3 separate regions of the Homo sapiens genome follow, and all the other regions are linked to region 1. Evidence: promoter capture Hi-C in 16 types of primary human blood cells and fetal thymus (Javierre and others, 2016). All regions are on one chromosome and are shown on one strand. The core of a region is centred on a gene start or on the middle of the fragment in contact, and the rest is flanking DNA. Distances in the headings are between cores, read along the strand shown.

Evidence for each region. The method cuts DNA at HindIII sites, captures the fragments that hold promoters and counts their contacts. A CHiCAGO score of 5 or more calls a contact.
Region 2: a contact is called between a fragment that was not itself captured here and the fragment with the promoter of KCTD15 in region 1, in 2 of 17 cell types (endothelial precursors and M2 macrophages). The highest score is 6.2, in endothelial precursors.
Region 3: a contact is called between a fragment that was not itself captured here and the fragment with the promoter of KCTD15 in region 1, in 3 of 17 cell types (endothelial precursors, M2 macrophages and M0 macrophages). The highest score is 6.4, in endothelial precursors.

The regions. Positions count from the first base shown.
Region 1 is chr19:33,794,307-33,798,972 of GRCh38, forward strand. It overlaps KCTD15 (potassium channel tetramerization domain containing 15), which reads left to right and starts at 2,564. Exons shown (of 7, transcript NM_001129994.2): 1 at 2,564-2,681; 2 at 4,362-4,460. RefSeq lists an enhancer at 1-497 and a silencer at 1,143-1,262. The HindIII fragment of the contact is 5,196 bases long and covers 1-3,431 here.
Region 2 is chr19:34,010,544-34,015,209 of GRCh38, forward strand. No RefSeq gene overlaps it. Among named protein-coding and RNA genes, the nearest start is that of SUNO1, 110 kb to the left of the region's middle. The HindIII fragment of the contact is 332 bases long and covers 2,018-2,349 here.
Region 3 is chr19:33,987,345-33,992,010 of GRCh38, forward strand. No RefSeq gene overlaps it. Among named protein-coding and RNA genes, the nearest start is that of SUNO1, 85 kb to the left of the region's middle. The HindIII fragment of the contact is 3,072 bases long and covers 746-3,817 here.

The sequences.
Region 1 (4,666 bases), core at 1,314-3,813:
TGACATGTACCTTGCAAATCTTAGAAACTTCATCTAGTGGGAAAATAAATGTTAAATCATGAATACCCATACTAATCACATTGCCATGTGGCTTCCTAAAACAGTTTCGCTTATACCAATCTTTCAAGTATTAATTTATATGTATATATTCACCCAGATTGAACACGAAACAAAGGCGTTACCGCAGCCACCTAGGATGAGGGACAAAAGAGGTGTGAGGGGCGCTGGGGGCCACAGGAGCCATGACAAGCGGATTTTCAGTGAGTCCCTCATCCTCCAACACAAGCCTGCTCCACCTTCCCTCATTCCACCCTCCACAAAGGCCTGGGGCGGGGGAGGACGTTTCTGTCCATGAAGTTGGGGGCACCCACACACACAACCTCGTCCGATTGTGATTCTAGCCAGCATTTAAGGGTGGATACAGGAGATCAAAGTATTTGAATACTTGCTTCACTTTCTATTTGTGTCTGGTCCCTCAATGCTGAGTGGGATGTGCATTGATGGAGGGCTTTGCTGTTCCTATGTCGTGCTTGGGACAGTCGGCCACAAAGCTGGGCTGACCTCTCGGGCCGGGCCGGGCCTGGCCAGCGTGCCGAACGCGCAGAGAGCGCGCTGCTGAGCCGAAGCTGGGAGCTGGAAGCCCGGAGGTACCGGGGCGTAGGGAGCAGAGTGGGCAGCCCTTGGGCCTCGCGGGAGCCCCTCCCAACCCCTGCACAGATCCCTGACCTACTTCCAGGGCTTCTTTCTGTTCCAGGAGCAGCTCAAAATCCATAAATTAAGGAAATTAACTGATGGGGCCTGCGGCATCTTTGTAAGCTATTTAAATCTATAAATTTACAACATCTTCTGCATATATCAAATAATTGAACTAACTGCAGGGATGTAACTTTAATGAGAAAATTTCCCCCTTTTTCCTGTAGTTCGAACTCGAAAATAAATAAATAAATAAAACCTTCCCTTAGGAGGAAAGTTTCGGCTGATTCCCGCGTAAAGAAGTTACGGAAGCGCTGTCTGGACGCTCTCTCCACGCGCGCGAGGTCCTCTAGTAGAGGGAGAAAGCCCCCCCCACTTCACCTTCCTCCCACTGGCACCCCGAGTCCCCCTCACCCCAGCTCCAGGCCGACCCCGAGCGCCCCCCACCCCGGGAGTGCGGCCGCTAGGGGGCGTCCAGGCCCGGCCGGAGCCGGCGGTCGGGACCCAGGCGCCGTTCCGGCCCGTGCGCACCCGCCCCGCGGTCCCAGCCGGTCTCCGGCCCGGGCGTCCCTGGAGCCAGGCGGGGGCGCAGTGCCGGCCAGTCGCGCGCTCCGTTTCCTAGGAGCCGGGAAATGGTCGCCGAGGAGGAGGAGGAGGCACGGGCGGGGCGCAAAGGAAACAGGAGGAAGAGGAAGGGGAGGAGGAGTGGGAGTGGGAGAAAAGGAGGAAGGGGCGGCCGAAGCGGAGACTGGGGAGGGGCGTCCGGGGCGCGGACCTCGGCCGCGGGGAGTCTTGGCTGCCGCCGTCTCCATCGCGCCGCGCGCGTAAAGGAAATGGCGCGTCTAGCCGCGAGCGGTCGGCCCGGTGCCCCAGCGCGTCCCTCCCCCGCGGCGGCCGACCGCGTGTCCGCAGACGTCACGGGAGAGGGGCAGCGGGGCAGAGACCCTGGGAGGGCGGCCAGGGAGCGGGGGAGGGGCGGCCTGGCCCCCGGCTCCGCTCCAGCCCCGACCGACTGGCAGCCCAGTTTCTTCCCAAGTCCCGCCCCCAGCCCCGGGCGCCGCGGCGGCGGCTGCTCTCCTCTTTGTAACCGAGGAGTCAAGAAATGTGAGAAACGTGCCCTGTGTTACTTATTTGGGAGCCGAAAATTTATGCCCAGCTGAAAGCGCCCGGGGAAATATTACATCAGATGAAATGACAATGATTAAAATCAGCCTCTCCCCCGCCCCCTCCCCGAGCCCGGAGGAGGCCCGGGCGCCGCGTGGCCGGCCGGCGGGGGGCGGGGGGCTGGGCCGCGGAGGGCGCTGGGGCCTGGGCGCACCGCTCCCGGGAGGGTCCTGGCCGCGGCCCCGGCGGGAAGGCGCGGGCTTCGGGAGAGGCGGGTGGGGATCGCCCGGCGAAAGGAGGGGAAACGGCGCGTTTTTGTCGCCAGGCGCGGGCGCGCGGAGCTAATTGCGACTCTAATCCTCTGCCCCGCGGCGCAGCCGAGCCCCGAGCCAGGAGTCGCCGCGCGCGCCCGTTCGCGCTGGGTAATTTGGGGCCGGATCGCTGCCCTTTACGTCCGGGCTGGGCCGCGGCGAGGCGCTGGCTAGGGGCTGGAGTGGGGGGCTGGTTTTCTCTCCAGCAATCGAGGGAGGCCGCCGGAGAGAGAGGAGGGAGGAGAGGAGGTGGGAGCGGCGGGAGGGCAGCCGGAGAGCGGCGCGAGGAGGAGGCGGCGGCGGCGGAGGCGGCGGCCGCGAAGAGGGGAGGAGGCGAGGGGAGGGTGGGGAGGGGAGGCCCCGGCGCGCCGCGCCGCGAGGGGCCGCGTGAAGCGGGGGCCGGGGCGGGAGGGGTGGGTGGGGGGAGGGTTGGGGGCGAGAGAGAAAGTAACTCCAGGACGAGACCGGAGCGACCCGCGCAGCGAGCATAGGCGGCGAAGCTGCGCCCGGCGCCCGAGACCGGCAGCTGCGTGGGGCGGGGGCTGCGCCCGAGCCCGATCTGCCGGCTCCGAGGTAAGCTCAGCGCGGGCGGCCACCGCTCAGAGCCGCGCAACCCTGCCCCGAAGTGGCTGCGATACCGAGAAAGTCGCCCGGCCAGGGTCTGGACCTGGGCGGGGGCGGCCGCTTTGTCCCTCTGCTGGGCGGCGGGGGCTGGCGGCGCGGGGGTGCCCAGCACAAAGGCCTGGTGCAAGAGTGGGGTTGCCCACGTGGGCTGGTCCTGGCCGCGGGTGGACCCTCCCCACGCGGGCGGTCTCGGAGCTTCCTGCCGCGCGGTGTGTGTGTGTGTGTGTGTGTGTGTGTGTGTGTGTGCGCGCGCGCGCGCGCGCGCTTGTGGAGGTCCCCGCACTCTGGCCCCTGTTCTGGGCCGAGCGCCCTGCAGAGCTGGCGAGTTTCCGGGGTCAGAAACGGGCTCACGCAACTGGGGCTTCGGGATGCACAAGTCCCGGCTTGGCGCCCAAAATCAGAGAAAGTCTCCAGTGGGACAGATGTGCGTCCTCTGACGCCCACCCCACGAGTCCGAAACCTGGCAGGAGGGGCTGTCGCGCTGGTGGTGGTCCCGGGCGCGCAGGGTTTGGGGCTGGGAGAGGGGCCGCGATGGGAGGGATCGCCGCCTGCAGATCCGGTTCCCCGCTGCCCGCCCGCACCCCCTGACCTGGACGCGCGCACCCGGCACACACTCGCAAACACACCCGGGGGCGGACCCCCGCCTCTGCAGCGCCTTTCTGTCTTCCGGCGGCCCCCACCCGCGACTGCAGAAAGATAAGCTTCAAGTTTTCGCTCCGTATCTCAAATGTGCATGAAGGAATTTAACTGCACGAGTGAATAACAGCATTAGTTTCAATTAATTTTTTTTTAATCCCGGCAACAATAAACTTTGAGAACAAAAGCGCTTTTACGTCCTTAATTAGGCGAGCTTCCCATCTGTGGTCTCCAAGTGTCTGCCTCTTGATTTAACTTTGTCCCCGCCCCGCCTCCGCGGCAACCCCTCCCAGCCCAGCCCCGCGCTTCGGGTGCCGCGGCCACCCCGCCCCGCGGCGCCTCCAGCCTTGGCCCAAGCCCTCTCCCGTCGCCCCTAAGTTCACACCGGCCGGCTGGCTCCGCGGCGGAGGCGGGAGGGGGGGGGTGGGGAGGCTGGCGCGCACCAGGTGGCCCGCCTGCCTCTCCGGGGCCACCCCTGGGACAATTGTGCAGGCCCCCAGGACTTTCGCCCCGGGCCAGCGCCCTGAGTGCGGAGCCGAGGGGAGCTCGAGAGGCGCCTTCTGTTTACCTTTTATGGTTAAAATAACAGCTTAGCAAAGAAGCGACTTCAGAAGAAGCGATTTAGTGAAATCGTCTCAAGCTGCCGCAGCTCAGCCAGTTTAATCACCCCCAGAGAGCCGAACAACTGCGAGCGCAATGGGACACAAAATCATTTTGTGTGTAAATGAGCGTGGCATTCTGCTCACTTCTCTCTGCTCGGGCGGGCGGGGCTCGGCGGCGGGCGGGCAGGGACCCGGGTCTCCCGCCGCAGCTGGAGAAGCGGGTCACTACCGGGCCAGTTTGGAAACCTGTGGGCCCTCCCGACCGCTATCGCTGAGGCCCCTGCAACAGGCGGGCCAGGGCGCACTGGGGCTGGGTGCTGGGTTTGATGCTGGTGCTGGTGGAATGAACTTGTATCTCTCACTGCACCCACTTTTGTGCTTCTGACTTAAGCAGTGGTCTCGGAAAGAGGGTCGTGGTCCCGCACGGATGCGCTTGTTGGGAGAAACCTTGGAGATTCACGGCAAGGCGTAAAGCCTGGGGCTTCCAACGGTAAGTTTCTGGCTTGCCATGAACATCAGGTTGTTCTTGGGAGGGAAAAGGGGCTAAGAACAGAGTGGAGCGGCTTCTGTGATGGAGGCTTGGTGTTCACGTCACTTTGGAATAGTGTCCTGGTATTGGGGAAAACATCTTGCAGTCCGCTTTGATAGAATTTCAGCCAGAATTCCTTCCTGTTCAGTTTATCCTCAGCGCGTCTT
Region 2 (4,666 bases), core at 934-3,433, 220 kb after region 1:
GCCAAATGGTATTGGACTTCTTAATAGCACCATTGGCTTCCATTATTGCTATTGAGAAGTCAGCTGTCCGTCTAAATTCTGTTGTTTTTATGCAATCTGCCTTTACTCCCTGGATATTTTTAAGGTTTTACAGATCTCTTCATATTGAATTATCTGTTATTTCATCATGAAGGATCTCAAGTGGAGTTTTATTTTGTTTTGTCCTGTTCTCTATCCTACTTGGGATTCATTATGATTCCTGAATGTGAAGTTTCATTTTTTTTCATGAGTTCTAGAAAATTCTAGTATATAGCTCTGCCATTTTTCTTTTGGATACTGCTTCTTTTTCATTCTATTTATTCTCTTTTTCTAGAATTCCAATGAAATGTATATTAGGCATTCTTACCCTATCCTTTATGTCTTTTAGCCTGTGCTTCATATTTCCTATCTCCTTGTTTCTCTATACTGGATTCTGGATAGCTGAGCTCTGCTTTCCTGTTTGCTAGTTCTCTCTTCAGCTATGTCTAATCCGCTGTTTAACCATAAGGTTCTTATTTCAATGTGTTTTTTTTTTCATTTTTAGAAGTTCTATTTGAATATTTTTCAAAACTACCTGATTTTTTTTCTTAGTTTACAATTCTGTTTTCTTTTTTTATTTCTTTCAACATGAAAGCACATTTATTTTATATTCTATGTCTTAAAATTTATAGTATCTGAAGTCTTTAGGGAACTAATTTCTACTCTTTGTTGTTTCTGCTAATTTTCATTTGCAATGGCATGTTTGCTTGTGTTTTTCTTGATTTTTCAATATCAGCTTATGTTCATCAGGACTTTTCTGTGGGGATTTCATGAGGCCTGGCTTGGGAGTGCATTCCTCCAGAGAAGATCTGCATTTGCTTCTTTTAGGTACCTGAAGATATTCCCAATCCAGGACCACTTTACATTAATTTCTTGGCTTGAGGGTTATGTACTGTGCCAGTGCCATAAATTAGAATGTCACACCTTATGAAGGCTGGTCTGAATTCTAAATTATCAGGGGAAGTTTCTTTTTCTAATTCTGCCCAGGGTCCAAGCTGAAAAAACCACATTTCCTTACTGGATCATCTCTTTTAACTGCACAGATGTGTCTCTAGATCAACACTGTTCAAACCTTTCAACTTTCACAGGCCAAGGCCCTTGCACCCCGCAGGTAAAACTCAAGACTCCAGGTGGTGGGAAATTACCAGGCAACCTTAGATAGCCACTTTGTGACAAAAAGGTTTTGGGATATCTAGTCTATCATATTGTCAGAAATGGAAATAACCAATCCTTCTTTTCACTTCCTCTAGATTTTGAGTGTAGAACTGCTGAGTGAATCTAAGTGAGACAAAATCCTTTTCCCACACAGGAAAATACAATTTGGTGTTTGGAAAAAGGAAATTGGGCCACCATCTTTTTCTTAGATTAGAGGAATCTAATTAAACTACTATCTCTTGTAATCAAGAAACATTTACCTGAAGTTCAACAATTTCTACCATTTCATTTTGTTATATTTTGAACATTACATTCAAGCAAAATTACATAATGTTTAATAAACTTTATTTTCTAGAACAGTTCTACATTCATAGCAAAATTGAGAGGAAGGTACAGAGATTTCCTATATACCCTCTACCCCCACACACACACAGCCTCCTCTATTGTCAACATCTCCTACCAGTGTGGTACATTTGCTATAACTGACGAACCCACATTGAAACAGTATTGTTGCCTGGAGTCCATAGTTTACATTAGGGTTCATTGTTGATCTTGTACATTCTATAAATTTGGGCAAATGTGTAATGACATACATCCACAATTGTAGTATTATACTAAATAGTTCCATTGCCCTAAAAATCCTCTGTGCTCTGCCTATTCATCTTTCTGTCCTTACTAACCCCTGGAAACCACTGACTTGTTTACTGTCTCCATAGTTTTGCCCTTTTCAAAATGTCATGTAGTTGGAATCATGTAGTATGTAGCCTTTTCAGATTGGCTTATTTTACTTAGTAATATGCATTTAAGCTTCCTCCAGGTCTATTCATGGCTTGGTAGCTCATTTCTTTTTAGTGCTGAATAATATTCCATTCTCTGGATGTGCCAATCTATAAAGACTGAAAGAGGTGCCTACTTCTTCAAATGCACAGACACCAACACAAGGCCACAAGGAGCATGAGTAATCAGGGAAACATAACACCACCAAAGGAACAACATAAAGCACCAGTAACCAATCCTTTAAAAATGGAGATCTATGAACTGCCTGATAAACAATTCAAAATAATCACTTAAAGAAACTCAGTAAGCTGCAGATAATACAGATAGATAACTAAACGAAATCAGAAAAACAGACTTAGAAGCTTAACAAATAGAATAGAAGCCATAGAAAAGAACCAGTAAGAAATTCTGGGCCTAAAGAACACATGACTGAACTGAAAAATTTCATATAGAGTTTCAACAGCAGACTTGGTCAAGTAGAAGAATATATGCAAATCAATAAATGTAATATACACATTAACAGAATAAAGGATGAAATCACATGATTATCTCAAAAGATGCAGAAAAAGCATCTGGCAAAATTCAACATCACTTCATAATTAAAAACTCTTAACAGATTAGGTGAAGAAGGAATATACCTCAACATGATAAAAGCCATATGTGCCAAGCCCACAGCTAACAACATACTCGATGGCGAAAAGCTAAAAGGTTTTCTTCTAAGATCTGGAATAAGACAATGATGCCAATTCAATTTAATAAAGGCATTCAAATAAGAAAGGAAGAAGAAAAACTGGCTCTGTTTGAAGAGGTTGCATACAGAAAATTCTAAAGACTCCACCAAAACATGTTTAGGGCTAATAAATGAATTCAGTGAGGTTGTGGGATACAAAATAAACACAGAACAATCAGTAGTATTTATATACACTAACATCAAACTATCCAAAAAGAAATCAAGAAATGATCCCATTTATAATAGCAATAAAAACATAAGATTCTTTTTTTTTTTTTTTTTTTTTGAGATGGAGTCTTGCTCTGTCGTCCAGGCTGGAGTACAGTGGCACAATCTCGGCTCACCAAAACCTCTGCCTCCCGAGTTCAAGCAATTCTCCTGCCTCAGCCTCCTGAGTAGCTGGGATTACAGGCATGAGCCACCATGCCCAGCTAATTTTTATATTTTTAGTAGAGACGGGGTTTCACCATGTTGGCCAGGCTGGTGTCAAACTCCTGACCTCAGGTGATCCACTGCCGCAGTCTCCCAAAGTGCTAGGATTACAAGCGTGAGCCACTGTGCCCGGCCAAAAAACATAAGATTCTTAAGAATAAGTTTAACCAGGGAGGTGAAACATCTGTACACTGAAAATGATAAAACATTGATTAAAGAAATTGAAGAGGAAACAAGCAAGTGAAAAGATATCCTATGTTCAATAATTGGAACAATTAATATTGTTACAATGTCCATAATACCAAAGCTGTCTACAGATTCAGTGCAATTCCTATCAAAATTCCACTGGCAATTTTCAAAGAGAAAAAAATATTAAAATTCATATAGAACTGCAAAAGACCCCAAATAGACAAAGCAATCTTGAGGTAAAAAGAACAGAGCTAGAGCAAGAACACTACCTGACTTCAAAATATACTACAAAGCTACAGTAATTAAAACAGCATGGTAGTGGCATAAAAACAGACACACAGACACAGAGGAACAGAATAGAGAGCCCAGAAGTAAACTTACACATTTATGGTCAATGGATTTTTGACAAAGATACCAAGAACACATAATGGAGAAAGGGCAGTCTCTTCAACAAATGGTGCTAGAAAACTGAATATCTACATGCAGAAGAATAAAACTGAACCCTCATCTCACACAATTACAAAAATCAACTCAAAATGGACTAAAGATTTAAACATAGACCTGAAACTGTAACACTACTAGAAGAAACATAGGGAGAAATATCCTTGACGTTGGTGTGGGCAATGATTTCCTGGATATGATCCCCAAAACAAAGGCAACAAAAGCAAAAAATAGACAAACAAGATGACATCAAACTAAACACTTCTGCACAGAAGAGGAAATAGTCAAAGAGTGAAGCAACATCCTACAAATGAGGAGAAAATATTTGCAAACCACACATCTGATAAGGAGTTGATATCCACGCTATATAAGGAACTCAAATAACTCAAAAGCAATAAAACAAATAACCTGATTAAAAAATGGGCAAAGGATCTGAATAGATATTTCTCAGAAGAAGACATACAATGGCCAACAAGTGTATGAAAAATGCTCAACACAACTAATCGTCAGGGAAGTGCAAATTAAAAGCACAACGAGATATCACCTTAACATCTGCTAGAATGGCTGCTATCAAAAGACAAAAGATAATGAGTGTTGGTGAGGACGTGGAGAAAGGAAACTCTTGCACACTGTTGGTAGGAATGTAAATTAGTACAGACATGACGGAAAACAGGATGGACAGTCCTCAAAAACTTAAAATAAGAGTTGTTGTATGATCCAGCTATCCTACTACTGGGTATATATCCAAAGGAAATGAAATCCGTATGTCAAAGAGATATCACACACTGCCATGTTTACTGCAGCATTATTCACAAAAGCCGAGATATGGAATCAATCTAAGTGTCCCTCAAAAGATAAATGGATAAAGAAAATGCGGGTGTGTGT
Region 3 (4,666 bases), core at 1,032-3,531, 190 kb after region 1:
CTCTTTGCCTTAGCCAGAGACCCAACAGGAAATAGAAAGATACTCAAATTGAATCGCTCAAGGAGAGTTTAATAAAGGGATTACTTACAAACATGTGGGCAGGGTATGGAGAAACACAAAGCATGGGCAGTACCCCGGGGCCAGAAAAAGCAGGGGTCCTTTGCCGTGACTGGCTTGGAAAGGTGAGGCTCCTGCCATCTCAAGCCAGAAGGCTGTGTCAAGAGGCCACCATGAAAAAGCTGTGGCCCTTAGTAAGGGACTCAGCCAGCCTGAGACAACCTCACAGGGAGGTTGTTGAAGGCATAAATGCCCTGGCCTCACTTTTTCCTCTTTCTGACCTTCTGCTGGGACTCCCCATTGGCTGAATCCAACCAGAAGGCAAAGGGAAGGAAGCTGGTTAATGTGTCTATATGGTCAGCCTCTTCAAACAAAGATAACGGTGGGAAAGGATGAAGATGAGATGGGAGGACTGGCAAATGGAAGACACCTGGCATACCCTTCCTCCTGACACCCAGGGGAAGTGATGGTAAAAGAACAGAAAAGATTCACTCTCACACTATGAGAACAGGAGAGGGATCACTGGTGGGTCACTGAGTTTCCCCAAAGATTTAGTTGAAAGGTATAGACAGATGTGAATTAGCTGGAGAGGGAAGGCAGAGAAAGCCACAGCTTGAACACAGGTCGGGGGGGTCTGTGTCTGAGAGTAGGAAACTGCCCATGAGAAGTTCTAGTTTCAGAAGTGTCAAGCTTGACAACCAAAAAGTGAGCAGTGGGGCTGGCAATAGGGGAAATAATTAAAGGGTCTGTATTCTGAATAATCAACCCTGCCGTATGCCTCCTCAATTCCAAATGCTAAAAAGGCCAGCAGCCAGGTAATAATTCTGCCCTTGGCAGATGGGCATAACATCAATCTTCAAGGTAACAGGAGCTCTCAACAAAGGGGGGCAAGCTGAATGTAGAAGGCCCAACCTGAATTCACCATTGTAAAATTTCAGAATACCAAGAAAAGACTTCTGAAAGAAGAAGTCAGCTATGCAAAATAAAAGAATCAGAGTCAGGTTACTTTTCCTGTGAGCAATACTAGATGCTAGAGGACAATGCGGTGTGACTTTCAGATTTCTGAAGGAATTTATTTTATACCCAGAATTCTATACCCAGCCAAATTATCCACCAAGTTCAAGGTAAAAATAAAGGTAGTTTTCAGACATGCCAATACTCGGAAAGTTTCTCTCCCACATACCTCTTCTGGGGAAGTTACTTAAGGATTTAGTCTTGCCTCAGAAAGGTCTAGCTGACATGGAAGAAGACAAGGAACTTGGAGAGCAGGAAGGAATCCAAATGTCAGTTGTATGGCAGCCAGAGGAGCCACCATCCCTGCCTGGAGCATCAAAACAACAGGCTTCAGATGGGAGATGTCCAAGGGAAAAAGTGAGTGAATTCCATGGGAGCCTATGACTAGGCTTTGTAACGGTCGAGAATGTGAAAAATGCATAGAATGCAAGGCAAGAAAAAAAAAAAGACAGCTAGAGTCTCTAGGAAAACCTAACAGATGCGTAATAAAGTCATAACAAAATATTATGAAATCAGGACAGATTTGAGCAGAAGTCAGTGGAGTTAGAATACAATAAATTATATGGAATTTATTGGTAATAGGAAAAAAACCTGGAAGTTATTAGTGATACAATGAAAAAAACACGTTTCTTCCCTCATCAAGAGCAAAGAAGGGTGACCAGCAAAGGGGATGGGGGAAATTATACAAGAAAGGTGTCATCTAAACATAATGTAGAAAATATGTCATGAATGTGAGCAATTAATCAGGTGTAAGAACAAATTCTTTTGGACATTCTTCTGTGAGTAGCACAGAAGTGGGAATATTAAGATAGCTGGGAAGAATGTAGTCATCGATTCTTCTTGGCTCTGGAGCAAACAATACTGTTTATAACATACATGTACTTCAGTGGCCCACCTGTGATCCCTCTCCTGTTATCGAAGTGTGAGAGTGAATCTTTTCTATTCTTTTACCATCATTTCCCTGGGATGTCAGGAGGAAGGGTATGCCACATATCTTCCATTTGCTGCTCCTCCCATCTTCTCTTCATCCCTTCCCACCATTATCCTTGTTCCAGGAGGCTGACCGTATAGACAGACATATTAACCAGCTTCCTTGCTGTGTGCCTTCTGGTTGGATTCAGCCAATGGGGAGCCCCGGCAGATGATTAGAGAGAGAAAAGAGTGAGGCCAGGGCATTTACTTGCTGCCTGGGACTCTCCCCAGATATTCTCATGGCTTATTCCCTTACCTCCTTCAGGGTTTTCCTCAAATATCACCTTTTAGAGAGAGCTTTTCTGACTATTCTATCTAAATTGTGACACACACACATATTCCCTATACACCTTATAGCTTAATGTTTTTCTAAGCACAGCCAGCATACTACATATTTTGCTTCTTCATCTTGTTTTTTATCTCCCACATTAGAAAGTAGGTTCCATGAGGACAGAGATTTTCTACTCTTATGTTTATTGTGGTTTCTCCACCACCAGGGGCAGGGACTTGCTCAGGGTAGGAACTGAATAAATATTTGTTGAATTAATAAATGTTGAATAAAGTTGTAGGCAAGTCACTTAAGGAATATTTGGGTTTGTGTGACAGAAAGTAAACGTCATTACACTTGGCAATGTAAAGGTAAAAGCATAGGCCAGGCAAGGTGGCTCACACATGTAATCCCAGCACTTTGGAGTCCAAGGTGGGCGGATCACCTGAGGGCAGGAGTTCAAGACCAGCCTGGGCAACATGGTGAAACCCCGTCTCTACTAAAAGTACAAAAATTAGCCAGGCATGGAGGTGCACACCCATAGTTCCAGCTACTCGGGAGGCTGAGGCACAAGAATCACTTGAACTCAGGAAGCAGAGGTTGCAGTGAGCCAAGATCATGCCACTGCACTCAAGCCTGGGCAACAGAGTGAGATTCTGTCTCAAAAAAATAAGATAAAATAAAATAAAATAAAGGCACAGCTCACAGAAGTTGGGGGCTGGGAAGGCAAAAAAATGCAGAAGGAAGAAGAAGGTTAGGAGTGCTAATATTCTCAATTTATTATGTGGACAATCAAGATACTATTGATAAAATAAAAAGTAAAGGTTTAATAAGGTTACTTAACCTTATTAATAACCTTATAAAGGTAGCAATTAAAATATTCAAACATAATAATGTAATCATATTGGTATGAGTGAGCCAGAGAAGGTGAAAGACATAGATTGAGTTAAATTTCATCCAAATTTCAATTCAACATAGCAAAAAGCTACTATAGTTTTTAAGTTGAGACATCCAGAAGTATAAGCATAAGAGTAGTATTTAGAGTATGGCAATGAACTTAACAACCTTATACTAGAAATAGTTAAACACAGTGGCTGTGATATGGTGGTTTCAATAATGAAAGACTACATTTTATCAAACTAATACTTCTATAGATAATAATTATAGACTCTGGACAAAATGTAAAGAAACTATCTGAAGGCATTAGAAAGTGACCCAAAGCACACATACAAATGGCAACTGCAATAGGTAAGATCAATGTCCTTAAATTTTCCCTGAAGGCACTCTCTAGTCTGCAAGAGGTAGAGAAGCTAAAAATGAAACAGAAAGCCTGAACAGCAAGAGAGGCTGAAAATTGAGGGGGAGAAAACCCAGGGGAAAAAAAAAGAATCCAAATAAAGAGTCCTTAAATTTGCATATAAACTCCTCTCAAATCCTTAGCTGAACTGTGCACATTCAGGGAAACTCTAGGAAGCCTTCTGAAAGGCAACAGCTGGGAGACTGAAAAGCTTGAGCAGAGATTTCAACTGTCACCCACTACAGGAGAGACAGTTTGGATTTGGAATCCTACCAAGTTAGAGGGACTTAGCAAACACTCAGGCTTTCCATCAAAACCACAGAAGGGCTGTGATTTAGAAGGTAGAATATGCCCCAAGACTGAGGGGTTACCCTGAGACTAAGAGGAAAACTGAAACACACTTACCTAACGAAGTCTGAAATGAAGAATCCTCAAGTTCATGGTGACAGGCCACTAATTAGACTGCTTGATAGAACAAAAAGAAACAAACTTCAGAGACGTATAAAAGAATCTAGAGTTTCTACAGTGTGTCATGCAAAATATCCAGTATACAATTAAAAAAAAAAGACATACAAAAACAGGAAAATGTGGTCAATAGTCAGAAAAACCTTACTCAATAAAAGTAGATAATCTTGTTAAAATTGGTAGACAAAGATGTTAAAGCGAAGATGTTAAATATTCAAAGAATTAAAGGAAATTTCAGCAGAGAAATGCAAACTACAGAAATTTTAGAACTGAAAAGTAAAGTATCTGAAATAAAAAATGTACTGGATAATTTTAACAATAAATTAGATACTGCAGAAGTGAGAGTAAGTATAGTTTAAGATGGATCAACAGAAATTACCCAGTATGAAAAACAGAAATAAAAAGTTGAAAGAAGAAAAAACACTAAAGTCTCAATGAATTCTGAGAGAATATCAAGTGGTCTGACAACATGTGCAATTCAAGTCCAAGAAGGAAAGGGCAAGGAGCAAAGAAAATTTGAAAAAATAATGCCCCAAATCTCTCAAATTTGGTAAAACAAAAAACAAACACACAAGCAAAGCTTATACATTCAA